2 separate regions of the Homo sapiens genome follow, and region 2 is linked to region 1. The links are contacts of gene promoters, found by promoter capture Hi-C in blood cells and fetal thymus (Javierre and others, 2016). All regions are on one chromosome and are shown on one strand. The core of a region is centred on a gene start or on the middle of the fragment in contact, and the rest is flanking DNA. Distances in the headings are between cores, read along the strand shown. Region 1 holds the start of TMEM68 (transmembrane protein 68). Region 2 has its middle 6.8 kb from the start of UBXN2B.

Evidence for each region. The method cuts DNA at HindIII sites, captures the fragments that hold promoters and counts their contacts. A CHiCAGO score of 5 or more calls a contact.
Region 2: a fragment that was not itself captured here is called in contact with the fragment with the promoter of TMEM68 in region 1 in 1 of 17 cell types (non-activated CD4 T cells); the score reaches 5.7 in non-activated CD4 T cells.

What each region holds. Positions count from the first base shown.
Region 1 is chr8:55,770,578-55,777,773 of GRCh38, forward strand. TMEM68 (transmembrane protein 68) reads right to left here and starts at 2,801. Exons shown (of 8, transcript NM_001286657.2): 1 at 2,692-2,801. TGS1 (trimethylguanosine synthase 1) reads left to right here and starts at 2,869. Exons shown (of 13, transcript NM_024831.8): 1 at 2,869-3,142. The coding sequence starts at 3,042. RefSeq lists enhancers at 1,703-2,206, 2,978-3,307 and silencers at 2,428-2,557, 2,648-2,837. The HindIII fragment of the contact is 10,724 bases long and covers 1,349-7,196 here.
Region 2 is chr8:58,400,933-58,408,128 of GRCh38, forward strand. No RefSeq gene overlaps it. Among named protein-coding and RNA genes, the nearest start is that of UBXN2B, 6.8 kb to the right of the region's middle. The HindIII fragment of the contact is 3,704 bases long and covers 2,279-5,982 here.

The DNA of each region.
Region 1 (7,196 bases), core at 1,551-4,050:
GCAGGAGGACTGCTTGAGCCCGTGGAGTGAAGACTGCAGTAAGCTATAATGATCACACCACTATACTCCAGCCTGGGCAACTGAGCAAGACCCTGTCTCGGGGGCAGGGGGGAACTCTATGTACTAGAAGATGTTTTGGGGGAAATACAATATTTTAGTTCTCAAAATTCCAGGTTATTTTCTACAGCCCCCTGCTCCTAAAAATCTAAAATAAACACAGTCTAATGCATCACATATAAAGTATCTTAATTTCCCTATCTGGAAATCACGTAACTTTTGTAAAAACAAGTAGACAAGGCCACGCGCGGTGGCTCATGCCTGTAATCCCAGCACTTTGCGAAGCAGCGGCAGGAGGATCACCTGAGGTCGGGAGTTCGAGACCAGCCTGACCAATGTGGAGAAACCCTGTTTCTACAAAAAATACAAAATTATCCAGGTGTGGTGGCGCATGCCTGTAAACCCAGCTACTCAGGAGGCTGAGGCAGAAAATCGCTTGAACCCAGGAGGCGGAAGTTGCGGTGAGCCAAGATCGCACCATTGCACTCCAGCCTAGGCAACAAAAATGAATCTCCGTCTCCAAAAAAAAAAAAAAGTTGACAAGCTCAAATATCACCATATTGACATTGATGGTGAGGATATGGACCTTACAGATGTTTAAAATCAGAGTATTTCAAAAACTAATAAATCAGAACAGAGAACTTTTTGGCTTTCAATAAAACCTTAAGAAAGTGTATCTATTTTAGGCTGGGCTCAGTGGCTCATGCCTATAATCCTAACACTTTGGGAGGCTGAGGCAGGCAAATCACTTGAACCCAAGAATTCAAGACCAGTCTGGGCAATATGGCAAAACCTTGTCTCTACAAAACACACACACACACACACACACACAAAATTAGGCAGGCATGGTGGCATGCCTGTAGCCCCAGCTACTCGGGGGGCTGAGGTAGGAGGATTGCTTGAGCCTGGGAGGTAGAGGTTGCTGTGAGCCGCGATCGCGCCACTACACTACAGCCTGGGTGACAGAGCAAGATCCTGTCTCAAAAAAAATAAATAAATAAATAAATAAAGTATATCTATTTTGAACACCCATTACCAGTACTTTTCCATTTTACTTTTAGTATATAAGTCACATTGAGAACATTCTGAAAATGCCAATTAAAAGATATAGTCACTGAAAAACAAGTTTTCCTGTTTCCTTTCTGCATATTTAATAATGGTTTAACAGAGATACAGCACTGTTTTACTGAATAGGACTTCTACTTCAAACCATGAATAAAGCTGCAATTTAGTATTTGTCAAGATAGCTGGTAAATCTAATCCTTTTAGCTTTAATACTTTTTTTATTTCAAGCTTTAAACTCGAGGTTCTGATACAAATTACCCTTCAAGACTTTTCTTTAATCCTAGAATGCCCAACTTCTAGCTAAAATCTTCCACTCTGTTTCATAATTACTGTTCTACCCTTATTATCGTAACCCAGCTACTCATCCCAATAATGCTGCACATCTATACTGGTATATCTGTAACCGTGCAGCACTCTTACCTTCTTGAACCAACAAAATCAGCCTATCTCCGACCTCAAAGTAGGGCAGCAGTAAGGAGGTGGGAATAAACATTTGAAAATGAATATTTCCACTAACTAGTAAATGTGGCCAAAATACTATTGAAAATACCATTCAAAATGCATGAATTTTAGCTCAGTTTTTATATAGTTCTGAAGAAGTACCAATACTATTTTGGCATTTCGTAGCACCAACCACGTCCGAAGCGCTCCAACTTTCAAGTCTGAGCTTGTCTCTGAAGAAGTTGCCCGTGCAGCCTCCATGAATACCACACACCAAATACTAACTGCTTTTTAACAGATCCAGCAACGCTGCTGTTTCCATTTTCTCCATCCTATTTATGCCCACATGAACTTTTTTCTTATTAGATAATTAGTAACTTGAAGGCAGAGACCTGTTTTACAGGCTGCAAACCCCAGGGACCGAGACAGCACTTAACGCCTACAAGGTCCAAACCGACGCCAACGATTAAGCGCACAAAGGAAAGGTGTAATATACATCATTTCGTTTAGTCCTCCCTGCAGCCTCATGTAGTAGTTACTATTAATCAACCCCATTTCACAGGTGATCAAAGGTAAGCTCAGAAAGGTGAAGTTGCCTGCCCAGGTCACAAGGTAGGACCAGGATTCCAAGCCTGATCGGTCTGGATACGAACGCTCTACCCACGCGGCTTTCCCCCTACACTCTCGGGATCACCACACACTTCCCCTTGGCTTTTACACCGGAGGCTCGACCTGGGTCCCGGAACCAGCGAAGCCACTGGGCAAGCCTAGAGGCCTCTACAGAGGCTAGAGACGCCTCGCCCCACCAGATGCATTAGGATGAAACGCGCCGAACCGAAGGTTTAGAGCGCCAGGGGAGAAGAGGGGCGGGGAGAGCAGGCTCTTTGACCCAGAGGAGGGAGGATCTCCACACCCGGCCACTCTGGCGCTGGGGCGCAACACTGAGGCCGGCGGGAAGCCGAGCCTGCCCGCGAAGAGACTGGGGATTCCGAGGCGGCTCCTGGGAGACCGGACGCGCGCGGCCTCCGCCGCTCCCAGTCCCGCCAGACCCGATGCCGGGCTGGAGAAGCGCGGGGGCCGACGCACCTCGGATAGGCGGGGGCAGGGGCAGGGGCAGCTCTCCTTTACCCTAGAGCGGCGACAGAAGCTCTTCGGGGGATCAGTGGCCAAGGGGGCGGACAGATTTGCACGGCGGATTCCTCCGAAGCAACCCGTGTGAAAGAAGCCAAGCGGCGGCTGCAGCCCGGGCCGCGATGGGGGTGACACCGCCCGTGGTCCCGCCCCTTCCCGTGGCCCCTCGGAGCCACTTCCGGCGGCAGCGTCCGGGCTAGTTCCCGGCGCGAGCGGCCGCGGGCCAGTTTCTATCTCCTCATCCAGGGCTTGCGGGCGAGGCCTGTTTTAAGTCTCCAGTAACCGAGCGGAGGCCCGGCAGGCGCGACCCGGGCTGCGTACGTCAGAGCTGCCTCCGAAGTGGTAAAATGTGCTGCGAGAAGTGGAGCCGCGTGGCGGAAATGTTTCTCTTCATTGAGGAGCGGGAGGATTGTAAGATACTGTGCCTTTGCTCCAGGGCATTTGTGGAGTAAGTAGAAAAGAGAATCTCTTCATGTTCTAGCACAGTCATTACCCAGAAATGTAGGTATTGCAAACGTGGTTGTAATTGATCCCTGAAAGCAGCCAGAACATCTGACCCTTGGGCACGGTGATGTTTAAGAAAAACAAAACCCTCAGACATGACGGAGTGGTCGCCCACTGCCATTATTTTTATGTGAAGGACTACATCTACTTGGTAGGCTGCTATGAAAAAATGTCGTAGGTGCTATATGTCATCTCATATTTGTAAATCGAGGGGACATTTAAAAATTGGGGGAAAGCGACATGTAAAATGAAATCTCTAGTAGATATGATGTCATAAAGTGAAAGTTTAAAGTTGAGTGACTTGCTTTGGTTAACGTCTTTTTTTAAACCTAAAAATCTACTTAAGCCCAAATGCACATAATTAAAACTTCAAACTAGTTGAGATAAAAGACTTAACCATATTTACATCAGTTTTTGTGATATCTTTATTTTGGGGAAATCTTTGAATCAGGTAAAAATTGCCCCACATGAAAAATAGCTAGTATGCAGGAATAATACCGCCAAGAGACTTGAATTCTAGGAATTGTTTCCTTTATATTAAATGCGTGAGTTAAACCACTTGAACCTTTTTTTCATCTCTATAACGGGTATATTTAATCTCACATGCTTATTTTGTTAGAGTTAAATCCTTGTGGAAGTGAATTTTATGTGATAGACTTTTAATATAGTTTAATATAGTAGGATTTAAGTTTGAAGGAATTCATTTTTCTCGTGTAATTTTGTGGAGTAATTTGAAAACGCAAAAAGAAGTTAAACTTGTTAAATTTAATGTAAAAAGTATTGTCGCCTTTTTAGTCAGGCATGCATGTAGTCATACAATCATTCAGAAAATGTTTTTTGTGCTCTTGTATATCAAGTATGCTGGTAGGCACTGAGGTACAAGACATTCTGTCCTTACATGTATTGAGTTTACTTCCTAGCAGAGAAGATCAATATTAAGATAACTGGTTACATTATTACTTGGTTGATTATAGTTATAAGTGCTATGAGAGAGAAGTGCAGGATGCTGTGAAAACAAATAACTTTCCAAGGGTCACAGAGGTTTCTTTGAGGAAGTAGCTTTTGGAAAGAGGTCTAAGGGGGATAAATTGGGGTGAGTTTCAGTGGGAGAAAGCGTTCTCTGCAGGCTGAACTCAGTAAAGGCCTTGAGGGAGCAAAAGAAAGCCTGGGAAACTGAACAAAATGGCTGGGAGGGAGGGCACGGTGGTGCACACCTGTAATCCCACCACTTTAGGAGGCCGAGGAGTGAGGATCACTTGAGCCCGGAAGTTGGAGACTAGCCTGGGCAACATAACAACACCTCATCTGTACTGAAATTTTTTTTTAAAATTAGCCAGCTGTGGTGGCACATGCTTGTAGTCCCAGCTACTCTGGAGGCTTGGGCCAGATGCTCTCTTGAGCCCAGGAGATCCAGGCTGCAGTTAGCCATTGTCGTGCCTGGATGACAGAGCAAGACTCTGTCCCGAAAAAAAAAAAGAAAAGAAAAGAAAGAAAAGAAAAAAAACTGGGAAAGAAAGAAGATAGGGTGTGCACAGTAGGCAGGGTCAAAACCCGCAGGACTTTGTAGACTATAGGAAAACCTTAAGCTGGGGAATGACATGATCAGATTTGCATATTTAAAATACTACTCAGGCGGCAGTGTGGAGGATTGTTTGGAGGAAGAGAACCACTTAAGACCATTGTTTAGGCAAGAGATTATAGTGACTTGGATTAGGATAAATGGCAGCAGAAATGGAGAAAGAAAGAAAGATGGGAGAAAACTTGCTGGGGGTGGGGACTGAATTGTATTGCTGCCTTTCACTGAGGTAGGGATCACTGGAGAATCATGAATTTTATTTTGGGTCAACGGAGAAGAGATTATGAGTTTGATTTTATACATTTTGATTTGGGGGTATCTATGAGATAACCAAGAGTAGATGGTATAAGCAGTTAGATATATTGATTTGGAGCGCTGGAGAAGTCTGGGCTAGTTTTAAAAACTTGAGCCATTTAGCCTTAGATAGTGATTGAACCCATGAATGAAGGGTGGGGGAGGGGGACCCACCTTTGAGGAATTCCAGCACTTTTTAAAGACAAGAAGAGATGGATTAACTAGGAAACAGACAAGCCTAAGTACACTGTCACCAAGTGTTTCAGTGAAGGTGTAATCAACATTGGAAAGCTGCCAAAATATCAAGCAAAATGAGGACTAAAAGTATCCACTAGAATTGACTAAATCCCTTGGATCGATTGACTGTAGCAGGAAGAACCGCAGACAAAACCCCTCAGACACCAGGTTAAAGAAGGAAGGGGTTTATTCGGCCAGGAGCATCGGCAAGACTCCTGTCTCAAGAGCCGAGCAACCCGAGCGAGCAATTCCTGTCCCTTTTAAGGGCTCACAACTCTAAGGGGGTCTGCATGAGAGGATCGTGATTGATTGAGCAAGCAAGGGGTACGTGACTGGGGGCTGCGTACACCACTAATTAGAAAGGAACCGAACTGGACAGGGGTCTTCACGGTGTCTTTTTTTTTTTTTTTTTTTTTGAGACAGAGTCTCGCTTTGTTGCCCAGGCCAGAGTGCAGTGGCGAGATCTCTGCTCACTGCAAGCTCCACCCCCTGGGTTCACGCCATTCTCCTGCCTCAGCCCACCAAGTAGCTGGGAATACAGGCGCCCGCCACAATGTCCAGCTAATTTTTTGTGTATTTAATAGAGACGGGGTTTCACTGTGTTAGCCAGGATGGTCTCTGTCTCCTGACCTCTGATCCACCCGCCTTGGCCTCCCAAAGTGCTGGGATTACAGGCGTGAGCCACTGTGCCCGGCCCAGTGCCTTTTTTATGCAAATAACCGATTAGGTCAGGGGTGGATCAGTAACTACCAGGCCCAGGGTGTGGCGCCGGGCTGTCTGCTTATGGATTTCATTTCTGCCTTTTAGTTTTTACTTCTTTCTTTGGAGGCAGAAATTGGGCATAAGACAATATGAGGGGTGGTCTCCTCCCTTAGATGACTTATTAAGTGCCACCACTAATTGTTCTACATTTTGTACTGACAGAGACTCTCCTTAACCAGACTTTACACAGGCTCTGAGTGAGCTCTCCTTTTGATTAGGCCTTGTCATTTGGGACTTGTCTTCAACCTGTCTGGTCCAGTTTTAACAAGAATCCTTCTAAGTCCATTAGTTTTTTTGTTTGTTGGTTTTTTTTTGGTGGTGGCGGGGTGGTTCTTGGGTGTTTTTTTTGTTTTGTTTTTTGGGTTTTGGGAGGTTTATTTTGAGACTGGGTCTCACTTTGTCACCCAGGCTGGAGTGCAATGGTACAATCACAGCTCACTGCAGCCTCAACTTCCCTGGCTCAAGCAATCCTCCTACCTTAGCCTCCTGAATAGCTGGGACCACAGCTATGCACCACCATACCTGCCTGATTTTTTTATTTTTTGTAGAGACAGGGATCTCACCTTGTTGCCCACACTGGTCTGGAATGCCTGGGTACAAACAGTTTTCCCACCTCAGCCTCCCAAAGTGCTGGGATTACAGGTGTTTTTTTTTTTTTTTAGCCAGAATCCTGCTAAGTCCATGTAGCAAGATCTTCCCACCCTTCGTATCTGATCGCTCTGGCCTGCCCTCAGCAAGAATACTGTTGGTATAGCAACAATCCCCCCATGCTGGATGTCTCCCCTTAGTAATTTTCCATCCACTGACCACGCCCCCTGAATTTTGCCCATTGGCTATCTTCAGCTGTCTTTGCTATATTTGAAGTTGAGCAAAATTTCTCTCCATTGCCATTATCTTTTTTTTTTTCTCTTTTGAGACAGAGTCTCACTCTGTCGCCCAGGCTGGAGTGCAGTGGCATGATCTCGGCTCACTGCAACCTCTGCCTCCCAGATTCAAGCAATTCTCGTGCCTCAGCTTCCCAAGTAGCTGGGATTACAGGAGTGCACCACCATACCCGGCTAATTTCTGTATTTTCAGTAGAGATGAGGTTTTACCTTGGAGGCTGGTCTCGAACTCCTGACATCAAGTG
Region 2 (7,196 bases), core at 2,881-5,380, 2.6 Mb after region 1:
CATCTACTATGAGGTCACAAACCATTTTTGCTCATTTGAGTATAAGCAATAAAACAAAATTACTATAGGAACTATTGTTGGAGGTTGTGTTTACAAAAGTTACTCATTCACCCATAAACAACAAAGACCATCTCAATTTCCCTGTTGCCAACCTATAGGTGACTGGCCAGAGTGCTATCTTAAGTATCTCCCAGCCTATAAGGAGCTTAATAATAAAGCTTAAATTATAAATAGAAGAGAATAATATGATGATTAATAGGCAATTTATGGGGATAAAATAATTTCAGTGGATTAAATTCTGATACAAGGAAACAGAATGTAGAGGTTTCATTACTAACCTAGAAAAGCATTTGAGTCGGCCGGGCGCGGTGGCTCACGCCTGTAATCCCAGCACTTTGGGAGGCCCAGGCGGGCGGATCACGAGGTCAGGAGATCGAGACCACGTTGAAACCCCGTCTCTACTAAAAATACAAAAAATTAGCCGGGCGCAGTGGCGGGCACCTGTAGTCCCAGCTACTCGGGAGGCTGAGGCAGGAGAATGGCGTGAACCCGGAAGGCGGAGCTTGCAGTGAGCGGAGATCGCGCCACAGCACTCCCGCCTGGGCGACAGAACGAGACTCCTTCTCAAAAAAAAAAAAAAAAAAAAAAGAAAAGCATTTGAGTCAGGGGTGGATAATAATGCAGACAGGCTTAACTATAAAAACAAGAGATACAATTTGAGATTTAAAGAGAATATTCACAGACCCAAAGATAGAAAATATTTTCCTGCATAATAATTCAGGAGTAAATCTGGCACAGTTCAACTGAAGCCCCGAATCCATGTGTCCCCCTCCATTCTCACTATCACTGATCTTGTTCATGGCCTCATAGCTTTTACCCAGAAGTTACCTCAGAATGTTCCACTGGCATCCACTGACTTTCAGTCACTTACTCCCCTACTCCATCTGACATACCAAGTGCAATTGCTAAAATAAGCAGATAATATTTTCCTTGCATCAAAAATATTTTTCACAATAATGTCTAGAAATAAAGACCAAACTCCTTAGCATTGCATTTATGACCCGTCTTGATCATTCCAAGGCCGTTTTCCACTGCATAGATCCTCCACTGAAGCCGAATCTTTTTACCATTCCCCAAACATGCTCCACACATTCTCCCCTTTGGAACTTTGCTGTTGTCCCCTGTGCCTAGAAGGCCCTTATGTCATCTTTGTCTATTGAAATCTCCCAATCCTTTAATGGTCAGTTCAGATGCCTCCCTCTCTGCTACCCTAATTCTCAATCAGAATTAATTTCTCCCTTTTCATATCTATAATCCTTTTCTTAATAGTACCAAATTTAACTTTAGATTTTTACAAGCATTATTTTTATACATTGAAATTAGGAGTGTGAGAACAAATGCTAGATTATTTAATTTTGAATCTCCCCACAGCACAGCACACAAAACACATTTATTTAGGTAGGTGATTAATAAAGATTGTTGCAGCTAAAATTTAGAAGTTTTCATACTTAAATGAAATTTCACACAGTAAACGTCTAATCAAATAGTACAGCCTGTCCTTCTGACTCAAGTATAAGTGCCCTACATACTCTTTCTGCCCAGGAGACTTGAGAGGAATAATTTCATTTAACCAGAAGGAGCCCATTCCTGCTTAGGCATCACAATTAGTGAACATGCTGCTGGTAAATTTCACCAGAATTTAGGCCTATTAATAACAACCTATATCCTGTGCATCTTGAAGTTGGAAATAGATAACCAAATGGATTTGAGAAAAAAAAGAAATTTATGTTTAAAATGTAAACTTAAATATAGTAAACATTGAAAATAAGCACACCCAACTAATTGCATTTGTATGTGTGTTATTTATTCAGAACATATTATCAAGCCTCTATTATAAGCCAACCATTGGAGATATGAGAGAATTAAACATAATCCTTGCTCTCTGAGAACTTCACAGTGTACAGACACCAGACAACAAAACGTACACTGAAAAAATGTCTCACAAAAACTGTGCGAAGTTCTGTAGTTACATAGGGAAGTTGCCTCAGGAAGGTGGTAAAGATTTGACAAAATATCACATTAGAATTCATGATCATGAAAGATGAATACATGCTTACTGGGTATAAAGAGGACGAGAAAGTTCCATGCAAAGGAAATGGTAATGAAGTGCAAAATGACATGGCATATTTGCAAATCCATCAGTGGCTTAGAACAGCTAAAGCACATGGGAAGGGAATGAGGTAAAGGTGGTAAAACAAAAAGTGTACAGACTAAGAAAAGCTTTATGTTCCATAACAAGGATTTGGCTTTTATTCTCCTCCAGTTGGTGGGGTTATGGTCAGAACAGCAACATGATAGTCTTTGTGCTTTTAAAAAATAGTTCTGAGAGCGATACAGAGGGCAGAATGAAAGCAGAGGCCCCAGCTGGGAGGCAGGGTGACAACCAAGGCAGAAGTCTGAAGATCGTGAACTGTGCCAGTGGAAGCAAGAGTGAAGAGGAGAATACAGATCGAAGAGATATTTTGGAGGAAAAATTGAAGATTTGGTAAACAACAAACTGTAAGGTTAAAGGCAAAAGAGGAATTTAAAATGACCCTGATTTCTAGCTGAAGCTAGATGCTGATCTAATAAATGATAGAATGAAAAAGAAGTGGGTTTGTACGACAAAAACAGAGGATTAGTTGGAGACACAAATGTTTTTGAGACATCCAAATGAAAATATCAGTTGAAAAGACAATTGGAAATGTAGATGTGGGGTAAGAGAGGGACCTGGGTATTGGAAAAAGAGATTTGGGAGTCTTAGATACAGTCCATTCTAGTTATTCGCAGATTCCATATTTGCATATTCACCTACTCACAAAATGTATTTGTGACCCCCAAACCAAATACATGCAGTGCTTTGTGATCAAACCCAGACACAAAGGAGCAAAATATTTCTGTTGCCCCATGAGCACATTCCCAGCTGAGCTCAAACAAGGTGACATTCTGCCTTTTTATTTCAGCTTTTATACTTTAAATAAGTGTCCTTGCACATTCTATTTAGTGCCATGTTTTTCACATGTTTGTGCTTTTTGTTGGTGATTTTGCTGTTTGAGATGGCCCCCAAGGGTAGTGCTGAAGTACTGTCTGGTGTTCCTAAGTACAAGAGGCTGTGATGTCCTTATGGAGAAAATGCATGTGCTAGATAAACTTCCTTCATGCAGGAGTTATAGTGCTGGTGGCTGTGAGTTCAATGTGAGTGGATCAATGATCATATTAAACATGGGGTCTTCAACAGAAATAGACATAAAACAAGGTTATGCATTGATCAGTTGATGAAAATGTAAGAAGTTCACAGGAACCTACCCTGTATTTTCCCTAGCAGCAATGATTCAGTATTCAATAACTCAGTGTTCTCAATGGCTTTAAGGAACATAACTACTGTAAATAATGAGAATTGACTGTGTGTAAATAGTAGGTATGAGAACAGAAGATATTGAACAGCGAAAGCATATACACAGTGAGCAAATAAGAGTGGCAAAGGCAGAGCCCTAAAGAACATCATTATTTAGAGGGTGGATAGAAGATAAAATGTTAGGAGAAGCTCAAAAGGAATGGTCAGGTAGGTAAGAAGACCAATGTTAAGCAGTATCATGAGGAAATTTCAGGAAAGGTAAAATCACAAGAGTCAGAGGCTGCAAAAAGCTCCCAGGAGACACGGAGATGGTATTTTTTAACCAAAAACACAAACAAAAAAAAAAACATATGCTTTTGAGTGTAATGGACCTGAATTTAAAATTTAGTTCTGCTACTTAATAGCTGAGTGACATAAGGAAATTCATCTTATTTCTCTGATCCTCAACTACTTCTGTAAGATGGAGACAATACCTATCCCAGAAAGTTGTTGTAGATTACATGAAATAATGTGCAATCCATGAAAATTACCAACTGTAAATATTCTATTTCTATTTTTAGAATGAGATAAAAATGTTTTAAAGGATGGAACAAGGCCATTATATATTACAGTGACCTCTGATCTTGTTCTCAGTGATGTCCAGCATATGTAAAATTACACAAACGTGAGTTTCATTTAGGTTGTGAAGTTGGAGCTGGATTTGGTTTAGAAGTGCAATATAAATAGGCCTGCATTTTATACTGTCTGTCCTGTCTGTATCTAATGAAGATATCTGTTGATAGATCTTCTTATTTCTTGACTTTCCATGAATGGAAAATGGGCTTTGGAGATAGTCAAATGTGGTTTGAGTTATGGATCTGATATGGTTTGGATCTGTGCCCCCACCCAAATCTCAGGTTGAAATGTAATCTCCTGTGCTAGAGGTGGGCCCTGGTGGGAGGTGATTGGATAACAGGGGCTGCTTCTAATGGTTTAGCACTATCCCCCCAGTGCTGTTCTTGTGATAGAGTTCTCACAAGATCTGTTTGTTTAAAAGTGTGTGGCACCTCCCCACACTTCCTCCTGCTCCAGACATGTAAGATGTACCTGCTTCTCTTCCCCTTTGCCTTCTGCCATGATTATAACTTTCCTGAGGCCTCTAGAAGCCAAGCAGAAGCTGTTCTGCTACCTCTATAGCCTGCAGAACAATGAGCCATTTAGCCCCTTTTCTTTATAAATTATCCAGTCTCGGATATTTCTTTATAGCAGCACAAGAACAGACCAATACAGGATCCCTACCACCTTCATTCACTCACTCATGCAAATAGTTATTAAAAGTACATATTATGGTTCCAGGTTCTGTGTTAAGGCACTAGAGATGAAGTCCTGGCCCACATACTCCATGAGCTTAGTCTAATGGAAGGAGAAAATAAGTATAATAAAATGTTTAACATTAAGTTTCCAGTTTAAGGACCCCATAATATATATGATAGGTCAAAATGGGTGTGAGAAAGATGCTCCTGGAGAATGTTTCAAAGACGATGAATGTCATGATTCTTGAACCTCCTCACCCACTTTGAGAACAGAAAATAGAGAATCAAGGAGAGTGAGGTATGTGGTCGTAGTTCTTTGAAGAAGAATGGGGAAAGATATCACTTTCATCACAAGCCAAAAGAAAGGAGACTTCAAGGCGACCACTTGAATGTTTGTTGATATTTTTGTTCACATTAACAAGATACACATAAGATGCAAGTGAAACACAAACACCCATAGTAACTCAACAACGTGAGCAACTTCTTCCGGAATCAGCTAGTAATTTTCAAATACTAGAGGAAAATTTACATTTTTTTTCTTTTGCTATTCACAGCATAACAGCTGCAGGCACAGCATACTTTTAAGTCTTATCTGCCTCGTAAACATTTTCTCCAACAGATCCTTAAATCTCCAGTGGGCAATCAACAAAACAAGAAATCGAACTTTTATTTATGGCGTTTACCAATTTCTGAGGTGGGAATACTTACACCATGGTAGATTTCAAGCTACTAACATGTTGTCACTGAATGCGAATTGGGAAGAGGTGTGCAATAGCATCTCCACCATATAGATCCAATAGATGTAAATCCCCTCAGGAGCATAGATAATAGCAAAATGTATTCAAATAACTAGGAAATTAGAGATTTGAATATTTATTGCATGAGTTTTTTGTATAATTTAGTTGTACATTTATATCATTTAATTTTTAATAATCCCTGTTTAACAACTGCCTTGCAAAATTCCTAAAAATTTAACAGTAGGCTCTCATAAGCCAGTGCACGGCAACTTCTGCACACCATTGACATTAAGTTCATTGAATATGTAGCCTTCACTATCCTATCTGTCACTCTGAAACTAGTAAAATATGGATTTTCCTCACTAACTATGAAATTGGTAGTAACTTTTGGGACAGCATCTCCTGTTCCTTTAGTCCAGTGGATACTTTTTAGTCTTAATCTTTCTTGATTATCTGTAGTAAATGACATCATTGGTATGCCTGTTGAAACTGCCTCATCACCAGTTTTTCCAGTCTCTTGTGTTCCTCTCACCTCTCTATTACTCAGGGCTACATTGAAAGCTTTCCTTTTTCCACTGAGTTCTTCAATGTTGGTGTTTGTGAGTGTTCTTAATCCTCGAATCTTCTCACATTTCACACTGCTCCTGCGAAGCCTTGTCTACTCTATCATTTACATGCAGTCAACACCCAAATCTGTATGTCCAAACCAAAATTCTTGCCTAATCTTCTAATCTTTATACCCACATTTGCAATTGCTCCATGATGCATTTTCACCAGAGTGTTCCACATACATTTTGAACTCAAAATGTCCATAACAAACTTGTTTATTTCCTTTGAAATTTGTTTCCCCCTTTCAACTCAATAATTTACGGGTAGCACCATTTGCCAAATCACCTAGCCAAATCCCCAGATGTCATTTTTTATTCCTCTTTTTTTCATGTATTCCACATTGAAGACTCCAGCTCCTGTCGGTTCTGACGTTAATATTTCTACCAAGTATTGCTTCTTTCTGTTCTCACTGCCACTGATAAAAATTGAGTCCTAATTACTTCCCATTGTTGTAATAATCTATTTCCTAACTTTGACTCATCATACACATTGATGCATCTGTAATCTTTGTAAATCACAAATCCTTTAATGGCTCCCAGTTGCCTTAGAGCAGTGTCTCTCAAACATAGCTGCACAACAGAATCAGCTGAGCAAGGATTTTGTTCAATCAAGTTTATAAATGAATAATTTACATATAATAAAATGCATGCATTTTAAGTGTATACAGTGTGCTTTTAACAAACGTATTAATACATACCTGTGTAACTACCACCACAATCAAGTTATAAAACACTTCTGTCACCTCAAAAAGTTCCTACATGTCCTACAATTGGGGAACTGAATCCTTACTCCAAAAGACAGCCCCAAGCTACCACCAGCTTTTAGTCATTAAAGGTGTTGCCTGTTCTAAAATTTCATATAAATTAAATCAGACAATATTTACTCTTTCGCACCTGGCTTTTTTTACCCAAGATAATATCTTTGAGATTCATTCAAGACATGTGAATCCATAACTTCTTCCTTTTTACTATTGAGTAGTATTCCATTGTATGATTTATCAAAATTGTATCCATTCATTGGCTGATGGACATTTGGATTGTTTCCAGTTTACAGGCTATTACAGATAAAGCTTCTATGAACATTTGAGTTGAAATACTTTATAAATGTATACTTATATCCCTCTTGGGTCAATATTTAAGAGTAGAATTGCTGGTTCTTATGATA